5 separate regions of the Homo sapiens genome follow, and all the other regions are linked to region 1. The links are contacts of gene promoters, found by promoter capture Hi-C in blood cells and fetal thymus (Javierre and others, 2016). All regions are on one chromosome and are shown on one strand. The core of a region is centred on a gene start or on the middle of the fragment in contact, and the rest is flanking DNA. Distances in the headings are between cores, read along the strand shown. Region 1 holds the start of SLC16A7 (solute carrier family 16 member 7). Region 2 holds the start of XPOT (exportin for tRNA). Region 3 holds the start of RXYLT1 (ribitol xylosyltransferase 1). Region 4 overlaps MIRLET7IHG (MIRLET7I host gene). Region 5 overlaps MON2 (MON2 regulator of endosome-to-Golgi trafficking).

The links. The method cuts DNA at HindIII sites, captures the fragments that hold promoters and counts their contacts. A CHiCAGO score of 5 or more calls a contact.
Region 2: the fragment with the promoter of XPOT here is called in contact with the fragment with the promoter of SLC16A7 in region 1 in 1 of 17 cell types (activated CD4 T cells); the score reaches 5.1 in activated CD4 T cells.
Region 3: the fragment with the promoter of RXYLT1 here is called in contact with the fragment with the promoter of SLC16A7 in region 1 in 3 of 17 cell types (non-activated CD4 T cells, total CD8 T cells and naive CD8 T cells); the score reaches 10.5 in non-activated CD4 T cells.
Region 4: a fragment that was not itself captured here is called in contact with the fragment with the promoter of SLC16A7 in region 1 in 1 of 17 cell types (non-activated CD4 T cells); the score reaches 5.1 in non-activated CD4 T cells.
Region 5: a contact is called between a fragment that was not itself captured here and the fragment with the promoter of SLC16A7 in region 1, in 1 of 17 cell types (naive CD8 T cells). The highest score is 7.3, in naive CD8 T cells.

Annotation. Positions count from the first base shown.
Region 1 is chr12:59,594,720-59,597,347 of GRCh38, reverse strand. It overlaps SLC16A7 (solute carrier family 16 member 7), which reads right to left and starts at 1,319. Exons shown (of 6, transcript NM_001270623.2): 1 at 1,112-1,319. RefSeq lists enhancers at 511-660, 711-850 and a silencer at 1,321-1,390. The HindIII fragment of the contact is 11,642 bases long and covers 1-2,628 here.
Region 2 is chr12:64,403,107-64,405,734 of GRCh38, reverse strand. XPOT (exportin for tRNA) reads right to left here and starts at 1,343. Exons shown (of 25, transcript NM_007235.6): 1 at 931-1,343. RefSeq lists enhancers at 1-621, 1,719-1,768 and silencers at 729-838, 1,169-1,328. The HindIII fragment of the contact is 10,073 bases long and covers 1-2,628 here.
Region 3 is chr12:63,778,564-63,781,191 of GRCh38, reverse strand. RXYLT1 (ribitol xylosyltransferase 1) reads right to left here and starts at 1,283. Exons shown (of 6, transcript NM_014254.3): 1 at 1,063-1,283; 2 at 18-173. The coding sequence starts at 1,231. RefSeq lists silencers at 915-1,214, 943-1,218, 1,235-1,464. The HindIII fragment of the contact is 1,854 bases long and covers 476-2,329 here.
Region 4 is chr12:62,615,006-62,617,633 of GRCh38, reverse strand. MIRLET7IHG (MIRLET7I host gene) reads right to left here. Exons shown (of 2, transcript NR_186001.1): 2 at 1-2,628. Among named protein-coding and RNA genes, the nearest start is that of MIRLET7I, 13 kb to the right of the region's middle. The HindIII fragment of the contact is 2,304 bases long and covers 133-2,436 here.
Region 5 is chr12:62,597,220-62,599,847 of GRCh38, reverse strand. It overlaps MON2 (MON2 regulator of endosome-to-Golgi trafficking), which reads right to left. Exons shown (of 35, transcript NM_015026.3): 35 at 1-2,628. Among named protein-coding and RNA genes, the nearest start is that of MIRLET7IHG, 4.2 kb to the left of the region's middle. The HindIII fragment of the contact is 7,638 bases long and covers 1-2,628 here.

The DNA of each region.
Region 1 (2,628 bases), core at 70-2,569:
GGACACGAAATAATACAGGAAAGGAAATCAAAAAACAATTGTAGAGAAACCACTCCTCGTTTCCTCTTCTATGTCTCGTGTGTGTGTGTGTGTGTGTGTGTGTGTGTGTGTGTGTGTGTGTGTGTAAAATTTTAATTTCCCTGGAATTGGAACTACAGAAGTCCCTCCTCAGCCCTACCGGGAAAGTGGCACTGGGCACGACCGCCCTTTCCAAGGCAGTCTGCAATCCTTTTCGCGGAAGTAGAGGAGAAAAGGGGGTGGAGAAGGGCGCCGCGATGCAGCATCCGCTGAGAAAACAGGCAGTTCGCACGTGAGCGGGCTCGCAGCCTGTGGCGCCACCTGACCGGGCCTGGCGCCCCCAATGTGGTGCAGTGGCCCAGCAAGACCAGAAGGCTCAGGCCCTCCTGAACCCTTGCCAAGTCAGAGGTCCCTTTCTGCCTGGGCTCAGGCCTCGCCCGCATATAGTTTTCCATCTGCTTCCACCCCTGCCATCCTTCCTGGGGACCAAAAATGAAGAAAGACAACCCCCCCATCCCCCGGTATTTCGTCTTCCCCTCACAGCCTCTTCCTGTCCTGATCATCTGCTCAAAGAGAAGACGTTCTCTCCACACACTCCACCCCCGCCTCCACCTTCTGCGGCAATGAAGCCACGCCACCCTAGGGGGCTCGGGGGCCGGATGCTGGCGGGGCGCGCACTAGAGACACGCCGCACTGGAAGCAGCCCTCGGAGTCCCGTGAGCCAGGGAGACTGGGGTGCACCGCGCCACGCTGAGTCTCGGTGTAAAAGCCGAGAGCGTGAGCACCTCCTGGCCGAAAGCACGCGAGGCGCTCCTTGCCCAGGACCCCGCGCGCCCCCTCAGTTCCCGGGCAGCTGTCGGCGCGCACTGGCTGACGCGAGCTCTGCTCCCGCGGCCGCTTCGGGATTTTTTTGTCTATATAAGGGCTCGCTGGCCAACTCTGCGTTGGCACGTTTGTCACAGGCTGGCCATTATTTGCACACACGCGTGCGGCTCCGCGGGCAGCTCGGGTCGCAGACGCAGGCTCGCCCTCCTCTTAGCCGGCACCTCCTCCTCCTCCTCCTCCTCTCCCCTCCCTCCCCAGCTGTACTTACTTTATCTGGTCTCTGGCGCAGGGTGGGCGCTGCAGCCCTCCGTTCCCAGCAAACCGCAGCCGATTCGCCTCGCTGTCAACGGGTGAATGGAATTATTTATTTATTTATGGCCCCTGACGTGTCCTCGCCCGCCACAGCCAGCGGAGAAGGAGGCGGTGGCGGGAAGGGGAGGCGCGGCTGCTGAACGCCCTTGTGGGTGCGGAGGAGCGCGCGCCAGGGGTGGGGGCCGGACAGGCTGCGGTGGAGGCCGGCCCGGGGGGTGGTGGGGGGGAGCCGCCTCCCGGTGCCTGGAGACCGACTGAGCATGCTCCAAGCGGCTGTCAAAGCTATAGGCACTTTCTCTATCGCTCGGGGCACTCCACTTCGGATTTTAGTTTTGACCAAGGAAGAAAGCCAAAAGGCAGGTAGATCTGTCTTTCCAGATGGGTCGTAACTTGCTGTATCCGAAGTACTCTGTAGCCTGACCTAGAAGACAGATGTGCGGTAGCTCTGTGCAACCCAAGCATGGGAGAGGAAAGCATGCAAAAAAAGAAGAGTCTGGCCGAATGCAGGGAGAATAGGAGATCCTCATTGTGAGCTTGCAGGGAAAGTGTTGAGCCATTTTTCAACTGAGGCCTTTTTGGGAGAAAGAGGTAGGGCACTGTTGGAGATTAGACTCACCAACCAAATCACTTCACGGAAAAAAATATAATTGACACCATAGGAGGAAGGACATAGAAAACAGCACCAAAAAACATTAAAAATAAGAAGGATTTTTTTTCAAATCATTTATAATTCCTTTCATTTTTAATTTCTCAAATTACTTAGTTCTTCAAACCAGCATTTAGTTATTTGACAACGAATAGTGCTAGAGATAATGGTAATTCTGCTGTCATTGGTTTGGTCTCTTCCCCTGTCTAAAATGTGCTTCTTGGTAAAACTGGAAAGAGGAAGGGCTGGAAGAGAACATTTAAGTAACCCCATAGATTGGGTTTCTTTAATATCTTTAAGTTAAATTGCCACTTTAGAGAAAAAGAAACTATCCAAAAGAATAATTGTAGGTTTTGGCTTGACAAGTCCTATTGCAGTTTGTCTACCAGTTTAGCTAGCTTTCTCCTCCTTGATTTCACAATCATTTTAAGGTGTGTTCTATGATTCTTCACATTTTACGAATTTATAAAAAGAGTTAAGTCATTTGGGTAAATTCACATTGTCTTTGCCACAGCTAGTCTGTTGTAATGGACGAAATTTGAATTTCAATTTCTGTAGCTATGAAATAAAAGTAATATCAATCGTGTTGATTTCATAAGATTTAAGTGAAATAATATACATGAAGTGGCTGGTAGGCATAATACAAGATGAAAAAATAATCGTGATTAATAACATCAAAATTACTGGAAGATAATTTTATTGAAAGAATGATATTTGAAAATGAAAAAAAGGCAGAAAATTACAGAAAGGATTTTATATTTTTAAGCTAAAAATGCTTAAATAGACATTTGTATAAGACATAATAGGCCTTTGATAATGATGAAATG
Region 2 (2,628 bases), core at 94-2,593, 4.8 Mb before region 1:
AGGCTGCAGAATCACTTGAACCTGGGAGGCAGAGGTTGCAGTGAGCCGAGATGGCACCACTGCACTGCAGCCTGGGCGACCGAGCGAGACTCCGTCTCAAAACAACAACAACAAAACCCCAAAAAATGTTTCAATACGGTAAACAATTATGCATCTTGCAAAGGTTCTTGGGGGAAGGCAAGCAACATACTTAAAATATTAAGCCTTAACTTTTCCTGGATAGCCATTAAGAATCAAACAATTTGGAAAAATTCCTCTACACCTACTGAAGACTGTTTCAAATACTACGACTGAATCTTTCCAGCCTTTTAACACCACGCTGACAAGTCGGTTTAATAAAACGTAACTCTCCCCCAACCCCCGCCCGCCACAACTAATTAGCACTTTCAAAAAGTACTCGTTTTTCTGGTTACAGGGAAACCTCATGCTTCTCTAGTCCTGCAGGATGGTGAGGAAGGTTTGAGAAGAAATGGAGCGTCCGTGCTGGCCAATTACTGCACAGAAATAACACTTTTCCTTTTTGTCCAGGGGTGGGGGAAGAATCAAGTTTGAGGTCTCCACAGTTGATAACGCTACAACGATGACTAACGGGCTTCGGAACCACAGGCGATGCCGACCCTCCTCTGCTAGCCTTGCTCCCATCCCTCCCCCGATCCCTCCCCTAAAGGAAGCCTCGTGGCAATTCGGGTGATGAAACACCAAGCAACCGCCGGCCACGCACTCGGGACGCGCTCCTCGGCGGCGGCCCCGGCTCGTACCCACCCCCACCCGGTCCGCCCAGCCAGGGGGTGCACCGCCATAGAGGGTCCCAAGCCTGCACCCTCCCTGGCGTCGGGACTCCCCCGGGCCGGTCCGCCCCGGCCAACTTCCTCGAAGCCTCACGCGGACCAAACCTGGTCCCGGTCCCGCTGCCCCCGAGCCCCGAGTCACCTTCCCTATCACTCCATCCCGCCTCCCAGCCTGCACTCCAGATGGTCAGCCAGCGGAGCGGAGCGGCGCGGCACGCAGAGAGCTGGGAGAGCGGCCCTCGTCCTTGTCGCCGTAGTCCTCCGCCACGGCCGCAGCTACAACGCCAGAGACGGTGCTGGCCGGGACCGCGCGCCTCTAGTCGCTCTGCGTCCCCTGGCACCTTCTCTTGCGTGGCGCCGGGCAGGCAGGCAGGCAGGCAAGCAAGCAAGCAAGCAAGCGGGCGGGGTCGGCGCCCCAGGAAGGGAAAGAGCGCGAGGGCCGGCTAACGCCGCCGCCGCCGCCGCAGCCGCCGCCGCCGCTGAGTCAGCGCGAAGCGCGCTCCCCGCGTCGGTGCCGCGCGGGCGGGCGCCGGCGCCAGCAGTCTCTTGGAGAGTGCGGGCGGCAGCCCGCGGGCTGACGCCGGAGGCCTACAACTCCCAGCATGCAGGGAGCGGCCGGCGCTTCCGGGCGGCGAGGCGCACACGCGCTCCCTGGCGCTCGCCGGAAGGCGTGGTCACCGGGGCTTGAGGTGCATGCCGGGATGAGGCATCCGGCCCAGGAGTCCCTACCCAGCTCCTAAATCCCCGGCTGTGTCTGCGTGGTGTCAGAGCTCAAGCGTCAGGTTCGCCCCGAGCATTCCACAAAGGGCTTCTAGTAGTTGAGAGTACGGATTCACGAATCAGGATGACGTGGTTCTAACCACGTGTGAGTCAATTTAATTGCTTGTCTACGGCCCCAAGTGTCCCGAGTACAGCAGTGTAAAGCTCTGATGAGTGCTGACAGGTTTTCAAAATTAATTAATTAATTTATTTATTTATTCTTTGAGACGGAGTCTCGCTCTGTCGCCCAGGATGGGGTGCAATGGCGAGATCTTGGCTCACTGCAACCTCCGCCTCCGGGGTTCAAGCAGTTCTCCTGCATCAGCCTCCTGAGTAGCTGGGATGACAGGCGCGCGCCACCATACCCAGCTAATTTTTGTATTTTTCGTAGAGACAGGGTTGCACCATGTTGGACAGGCTGATCTCGAACTCCTGACCTCAAGTGATCACCTGCCTCGGCCTCCCAAAGTACTGGGATTACAGGCGTGAGCCACGGTGTCCGGTCCAAAATTTATTTTAAACAGACTAAAATTTTGTCCATGAAAAGAAGGAGAGCATTCTTAGGAAGTCCTACTCACGGGATCTTTCGATGCTACTAAATGTCACTTCATTTATTTGGTCACAGATTTATTAATTTATTAATGCAACATAGAGGCAGTGTAGGCTTAGGCTGCCTCGACTTGACTGCCACTCCGCCTCCTCACTAGTTGACCTCAGGCACTTTACTTTAGTCTATCCATGCTTCAGTTTACTCGTATGTAAAATGGGGATTGTTAATAGTACCGACCTCAAAGGGTTTCTGTGAGGTTTGAGTTAATACATGTGTTTGACACACAATGTGCTCAATATTTACATTTCATTGTTGATTATTCAATGTGTACTAAATACAGACTAGGTTGCTGCCACAGACTACAAACAAAACTTGGAGAGGGAGGAATGGTAAGAGCATAGAATAAAACTAATGTTTTAACAGCTACCTTTATTTAGCTGTCCAAGACACTACACCAGGCATTTCCTATATAAAATACCTTGAATCACTCTTGCATCATGTTTCTAATTTATGTGTTTAAAATGTCAGGCT
Region 3 (2,628 bases), core at 34-2,533, 4.2 Mb before region 1:
TCTACGTATTAACTTACCAATGGCAGCTTTGCCCCAGATTTGTACACTGAGATCTGTTTTTCCTTTCGTGGATTTATCTAATATTTGAAGGCTAGTTTTAAATCTGTGTTGTTGCTCATTTTTTTCATCTCCTTCCCAAGGATTCCATTCTTCACTTTCCAAAGTGGACTGTTCTGTTTTAAAAAGAGTAAGTGTTTACCAGTAAGGTATTATTGCAGTTGTAGGTAAATTCAAATCATTTAAATTAAGTGTTAGTTCTAATTTCATCCTAACTTTAATTTCTGAGAGGTACAGCAACTGAATTTAAACTGGTAATACACAATGAAAACAAAAAAGAAAATCAGCAATTTTTTTACTGAACTTTTTTTACTCTGAAAAGTCTTAGAAATAAAATGCTACCTTGAGACAGGAAAATTCTCTTCCCCAACACAAAACCTTTAAAAATAACAGGATAATATGTATCAAGTTACAAGCTTAACTTTTGCAATTATTTTTATCCATTGTATACAGGTAACCTATGCACAAAAAACTGACTTCAGAGTGTAGTGTTCACCAGTCTTAGATACTATCGTGCAAAATTCTGAATAAAGGGAAAGAGAAAGCCGAGTCTGATCTTAACACAAGTTAAAACACAGGACAGGGGACCAGAATTTGGAGGTAAAGTCTGCCTTATGGTCACTGCAGGATTAGAGAGGGCTTTGTTTCAACATGGAAACGGATGTCTTAAACCTTGCGGCGATTTTGAGGCCTTCCAGGAGCATTCCCGCAAATCTCTGGCATTTGAGACGACGTCTTGGATTTTAACACGTGTTTGAAAGGCGTGCGCGCCTGTCACCCCCTGGGATCGGGAGCGGGGACGGCGTGTGAGATCTGGGTAAGAATGAGGACCATTCTCCAATTCCGAGCCAAGGGCTGGCTCGAGAGGCTGTAGGGGGCAAAGCGCTTCTCAGGCCCTGCGGGTAATCCCGGACTTGAGAGCCGGGTGCGGGGACCCGGCCCCAGCCGCCCAGCAGCCCCAGCCAGGAGCGCAGAGCCGGAAGGAAGCCGCCGACCCAGTCCTACCTCGGCCGCGTCTCTCCCGCGCGGGGGCCGCCCCCTTCCTGAGGCCCCGCGGGGACCCGGCCGGCGCCTGGCGGCGGCGCCCGAAGAAGACGTGGTAGGCAGCGTAGAGGGAGAATAGGCAGTACAGGGCGATAAGAAACGAGCAGAGCCGCTTCCGCGTCAGCCGCATCCCACTCGGGCTTCCAGTCAGGCATCCACCGCCATGGAGCGGGCGGAAAGAGAATCCGCGACACCGGCGGCGTCCGAGGCAGGCCCAGCCCGTTTCCAGGCAGTCCCCAGCCAAGGCTCCTCCGCCCAGCGCCCGGTACAGCCCCGCCCCGGACACGCCCACCGCCCGCCTCCCGCCCAGGCCCCGCCCCCTCCAGTCGCGGCTCATCCACCCGGCCGAGGGCCTGCCCACCTTCGACACTGGAGGAGGGGGTACTGGAGCGGCCCCTACCCCACGCTGCTTCCAGACGCCGGGCTGAGTGGGAACCTCTCTGACCTCTGCCGTGTACTCATTGCACCTTTCAACCCTGGCCACTTTTCCCAAGTACATAAAGACTCGGGGGAAAAAGAACACCCGCGGTGGTCCATGAAGGCCATGTGAAGGCATGGACTGTGACGTTTTTTGCTCTGCATGGAATCCCTAGCGCCTAGGACAGTGCCTACTACGTTGATAGATGAGTGAATATAAACGTCCTTTAAAAAAATTAAGTGATGATGGTCGCTTAACATTGTGAATGTAATTAATACCACTCACTTGTATGCATAGAAATAGTTAAACTGTCGAATTCATGTTTTATATACCTTACTGCAATAAAAACATTTTTAAAGTTAAGTTTCATTATTATGTGAGTTGAACGCACATAGGCATGCAGTATTTTGTCAAATAGAGGCTGTAAATGTGAATGCTTCAGAAAACTTTGTATCCAGCCTTGGGAAGATGGGCTACAATGTTTTGTCAGTTGCTCTGGTACTACTGTTCAAATTACCCAGCAGTCTTGCGACGGTATGTCTGCTAATTAGGGTGACCAATGGTCCCAGTTTGCCCAGGACTGTAAGGATTCTCCAGTTGGAGGATTTTTAGTGCTAAAATTGAGAAAGTCCTAGGAAATCAGTAAAATTGGTCACTCTAGCACCGACCCTAAACTATTAGGTCAAACACTTTACCCAATCCCCCAAACAGTTCCCTGCCTCAAAAGACCTGTTTTAAACCATTTTTGCTCAGACTCCCCAAATCCTATAAATATCACCCCCAACCTTCTCCTTCTGAGACTGCCAAGCTTCTGTCAAAGTGTGGCCTCCCTTACTGTAGTAGATTTAATAAATTTAGCTTTCCTTGATTAACAGGCTATTCTGGTGTCTTAGGGAGATGGCAGTTGTTTTATGTATGCTGTATTGTTGTTTATCCTATTTTGTTTGTTTGTGGAAATGACAATTATTTAAGGATAGGAAGTAATTACCTTATAATTACCACAAAACACCCACTGTATCAATGTACATTCAGATGCTACTGACTAATGGTTTTACTATTGAGAAATGCATACAAGGTAAAACTAATATGCAGTTGATGTCATCTTGAAT
Region 4 (2,628 bases), core at 35-2,534, 3.0 Mb before region 1:
CAAAAACCCTCTTTCTTTTAGGCTTTCCCTTTCCACACTGTTATTGCCATTAATTTTATTTAGATTAGAAATCTGTACAAAAATGGTAGCAAAGAGGAGACAACGCATACATCTGACCTAGACTCCAAAGCTTTACAGATGGCCCATAGCATGGAGAGAAGCCAGGACAAATTTTAGCATAGTCTTCTACATTGCATCAATGTCATTACTTGAGTATCAACTTAAGGATCCTTACTCAAAATAGACTCAGGTGGCCTAGAAAAGTGCTTGAAATTTTCTGCCTATTCCATGGGGTAAACATTGAAGTTTGCTATTGTAATCATTCAAGTCAAATTTTTGTGTTAACACTGGCATTATTTATATTAGCTATGTAGTCACTCTGTGTTTTTTTATAAAAACTAAGTAGATAAGTTCAGAGTTTGGATAATGGTAAAAAGCCAGAAAATGTCTGGAACATAGAGAGAGGCCTGGGGTGGGGGTTGGAGAGGACTGTAGAGGTTAGGGACTTTGGGGAACTATAAGTCAGCATGAGGGTGCTGGATTCCATGGGTAAAGATAATACCACTGACAGGGAAAAAGAATGATAAAAGAGACTAACATTTAAAAAAAAAAATTATGTGCCAGGCAGGCCTTGTGTTAGATACTTGGCATATACAGACAAGAGAGTCACAGGAAGGAGAAGTTTTGTGCTTATTTACGGTCACTCAACCTACATTCAAATACATTTTTGTGTTGTTTTATTATATGATTTTTTAAGTTACAAAAAAAAAAAAGAGGGAAGAAGGAAAAGCAATAAGGCAAACTTGCCAATAGGTTCATGAACAAAAGTCAATTATGGAATGTGGCAGAAGGCAAATATAAATGTATTCAAAGTTTTACCTTTAACAATTACACTTGTGGTTCCAGTTATCTGTTGATAATATAAATTACTCCGTATTTAGTGACTCAAACAACAATTTTATTTCTCTCTCATGGGTCTGGAGTTTGGCTGGATTCAGCTAGGTAGTTCTTGCTGAGGGTCATTCATGGGGTTGTCATCGGATGGTGGCTGGTGATGGAAGCATCTGAAGACTTACTAATTGCAGCCGGGCATGGTGGCTCATGCCTACAATTCCAGCACTTTGGGAGACTGAGGTAGGAGGATTACTTGAGCTTAGGAGTTCAAGACCAGCCTGGGCAACATAGTGAGAACCCATTTCGATTTATTTAAAAAAAAAAATTAAAACCAAAAAGAAATGAAGGCTTACTACTTGCATATTTGGAGCCTGGGCTGGGAAGGCTCACACATTTGGTCCTCTTCTCTCTCTCTGTGGTTCTTCCACATGGTCTTTCCAGTGTTGTGGCTTCAGGGTAGGTGGTTTTCTTCCATGGCAGCTCAGGGCTCCAAAGGCACATGTTCTGAGAAAGAACTAGGTGGCAGCTGTATCACCCCTTATTACCCTGTCTCAGAGTTCACACAGCATCCTTCTGCTGCATTTAATCACAAAGGTCCACTCATGTTCCAAAGGAAGAGACACAGATTCCACCTCTTGTTGAGAGTAGTATTAAAGAATTGGTGGACACATTTTCAAACCACCATAATCTGCTCTCAGGCCACATATTATTTACATCCTTCCCACATGCAAAATATACTCACCCCCTCCCAAGACCTTCTGAAATTCTCATTTATTAAGACATTGGGCTCAGGCTCAAGGTCCAGGACTTTATCAGTGAAATCAGGTCACGTGTGGATAAAGATACTTGTGTGTGGTCCTGTGAGTACAGCTCACGTGGCATTCCTTGAGGTCTGAAAAATCTGTCAGCTAGTGAGACAAATTATCTCTCCCTCATACCCAATATACATAGTGGAGTAGGTATGGGGTAACCATTATAAATAATCCCATTCACAAAGGGAGAAAAAAGAGGCATGTGGCGACCTCCATAGCAAGTCTATTGTCTTTCACGGTTCTGGGGCTTGACTAAGCTAATCTAGATGGTTTTCGTTGAAGGGGTCTCATGAGCTTACAGCTAGATGGTGGCTGGTGCTGGAACCATCTGAAGGCTTGCTCACTCATATATATGGCACCTGGTCTGGGAGGACTTAAATAGCTGGGATTGGGAGCAGCTGGGCTTCTTCAGACACCTCTTTCTAACTCTATGTGATTTCCCTGTGGTCTCTTCAGCATGGTAGCTTCAGGGTAGCTATTCTTACATGGCAACCCAGAGCTCTAAAATGCAGGGGCATGGGGAAGCTGTATCACCTCTTATGACCCTGTCTCAAAAGTCACATAGTGTCTTTTCTGTCATATTCTATTTGTTGAGGCAGCACAAAGGCCACTTAGGTTCAAGAAAAGGGAACACAAGACTATATTTTTTACTGAGAAGTGTCAAAGATTTTGCAGACATGTTTTTAAACCACCACAACTGGAAGAAGGAAAAAGAACAAAAAGAAAAGCTTATGAACTGTTGCTGAAAAATTATGCTATATCCTATGGCACCAAATTGGTTGGTGGTTGCAGCCACAAATCTGAGTGATGATGGACAAAAACAGGTCAAGGGTCATATTCAAATGCATGAAATTATTTCAGCTTTTTGTTCCTCAAGAAAGACCTATTTCTTACTTCACTTACTGAAAGAGAGAGAGAGAGA
Region 5 (2,628 bases), core at 44-2,543, 3.0 Mb before region 1:
TGTTCAAGTATATTTGTCCCAGTGCCCATCATAGAAATAGTAATTGCCTCAAGAGTATTTTTAGTTTATTTTATAAGTCTTGGATTTTAATGGACTGTAAAACATGAAACTATTGTACTGTAGTAGAAAGAACTGCTTTTGAAAAAGCAAGACATAGTGATCCACCTGGACTTTAGGTATGTGACTCTAGGCAGCTCACTTCAACCCCCTAATCCTTGACTCTTCTGTAAAATGAAAATAACTTCTTTGCAAGGCTACTTTGAGGATTAAAGGGAATAATATAGGCAAAGCCTTGGCCTGCACATACTAGGTACTCCAGAAATGGTGGTTAAAATTACGCATCAGAAAAATTATTTTAACTATATCTGACTGCAGTACACACTGAGTAACGTACAAATTCTTGTTTTATACTTTCATTACATAACAAAAAAAGGAATTTTAATGCAAATTATTTTCTTTGAGAGGTAGAGAGATAGTCTGGCATTGATATGGACAGGCAGTTTCAAAACAGCTTCACCAAATTAAAAAAAAATGCTCATAAGATTAAGATAATCTAATCTACATCAGGATTTTTACTTGACCTAGCATTTTTACTTAAAGTTCCAAATCTTTCTTTCTAAACTATTGAGAGACACTTCGTGTCTTCTGTTTATTATTTTTTCATTTTATATATTAATGGTTTTAATAAAGCTCTCAAGAACATTTCCCCTTTACTCTATAATTTTTTTTTTCCCAAAGTGATCATCCTAAACATGTGACTCACTACTCGTAAAGTCTTTAAACAGAGTAAGTGATGTGGGGTGTCAATAATGTTTCAGACTTAACGGGGATGAGAAAGCAAACACAAAGTATATTCAAGAAAAAAATGAATCACTGGTCAGATCCAAAGGTAAATTATCAAAGTGGTTATGATTTTAAGTTATAAAGAAACACTAGTGTTGCTGGAACATAATTAAAAACCTGGAATCATGCTTAATGTTAGCTGTAAAACAAATAAACAATCTGTACAATCACAGTTATAACTATATAGCTTTCATGAAAAATCTATCCTAGACTACAAAGAAAATTTGGGTTTGAGGCCAATACAATTTCATGATTATAATACATAACTGATACATCTCAACAACATAAAAATTGTAAGGAGAAAGAGTAACAACAGTGGTATTACTTTCAAGAATTGTGTTGGGAACTAAAAAATAATTTCACAAAATTAGATAAATATATCCAGTCTGACATAAACACCATATGGTAGCTGCCTTAAGAGACAGGAGTTGTATGTTACGTGTTAAATTATGACACAGAGGTAGTAGTAAGAGATGGAAAGCAAATGAAATTTGCACAGTTGGGTCTGAAGCCTAATATTTTCTTTTTCTAGATAAAAATAAAATTGCAATATAGGTATGGAGTATTTTTCTCCATCTAGTAAACATCATAGAAGGAAGCAGTTGTTAATATATTGCAATGATTTTCCAAATAACGGCATGGTTTAGCAGATCTTCCCTGGCTGCACTGTTTATTGAATTTTAGTTTAAAATAAAACTTAGTGTAACTACATTCGCAGCAACTGAAAATGGTCTGAAAATTTAATTTTTTCATACTTGAGGGGATAGAATCAATACCATAGTACAATTAGGAAGGTTTCAATTGACCTCTGGGTGACCTCTGGGTGAACCAATCACACAGACACCAAATACACTCCAGAAAGACTCAGATATGAGAACTATAAGATTCCGGGTCTTCCATCAAAGACTGCTTTGCAACAGAAAAATGAAAATAGTTGAAATACATGGGCAATATGCTGCCTCAAATTATTCTTGTAAGTAGGCAGTGTCAATATAAATCAATATTAAGATGGGATAAATCTAAAAGTTTAAACGTCTGCCTCAAAAAAACAAATATCTCCCCCACCCCCCAAAATCATAAAAAACCAAAACCCTAATTAAAAATATTTTTTTGAACTAGAGATAGGATCTTGCTATGTTGTCTAGGCTAGTCTCAAACTCCTGGCCTCAAGTGATACTCCCACCTTGGCTTCCCAAAGTGCTGGGATTACAGGTGTGGGCCACCACGCCAGCCAAAACCCTCATTTAAACAGGTTTTAAATACTTTACTTTGAGAAAAGATATATAATCTCTCTACCCACATAACAGAAAAGACATGATTATTCCAAATTTAGGTGCTGAATCCATCATATTTATAGCAATCCCATTTTGTGAGCATCTTGGCTGCTGAATCCCGTGTATTCATAAAGACAGTAGGAGTTATAGTCACAATTTTTTTTTATTTTTAGTTTTTTATGGCACTTCCAGTTTTTGGAACATATTACTTTAACTTGTTCAGCTATTTCAAAATGGCAGGGGAACTTTACCTTGGCAAAAACGCAACAGTGGCCAAAGTGCAAAGTATTTCTACTTTCCACTTTGTAGTGGTAGAACCATGAGCAGTGGTTCTACCACTAACAGCTCCACTTCTTATGAACAAGGAATAGGCACAATTAGAGAAAGAGCTGAAAGAGAAGAGGCAGAGAATGAAAGAGGAATTAAAAGAGAAAAATCAGGGGAAAGTATAAGAAAGATGGTAACGTAAACATAAAATTTAACAAGGATAAAAACATAAAAGAGAGAAGGG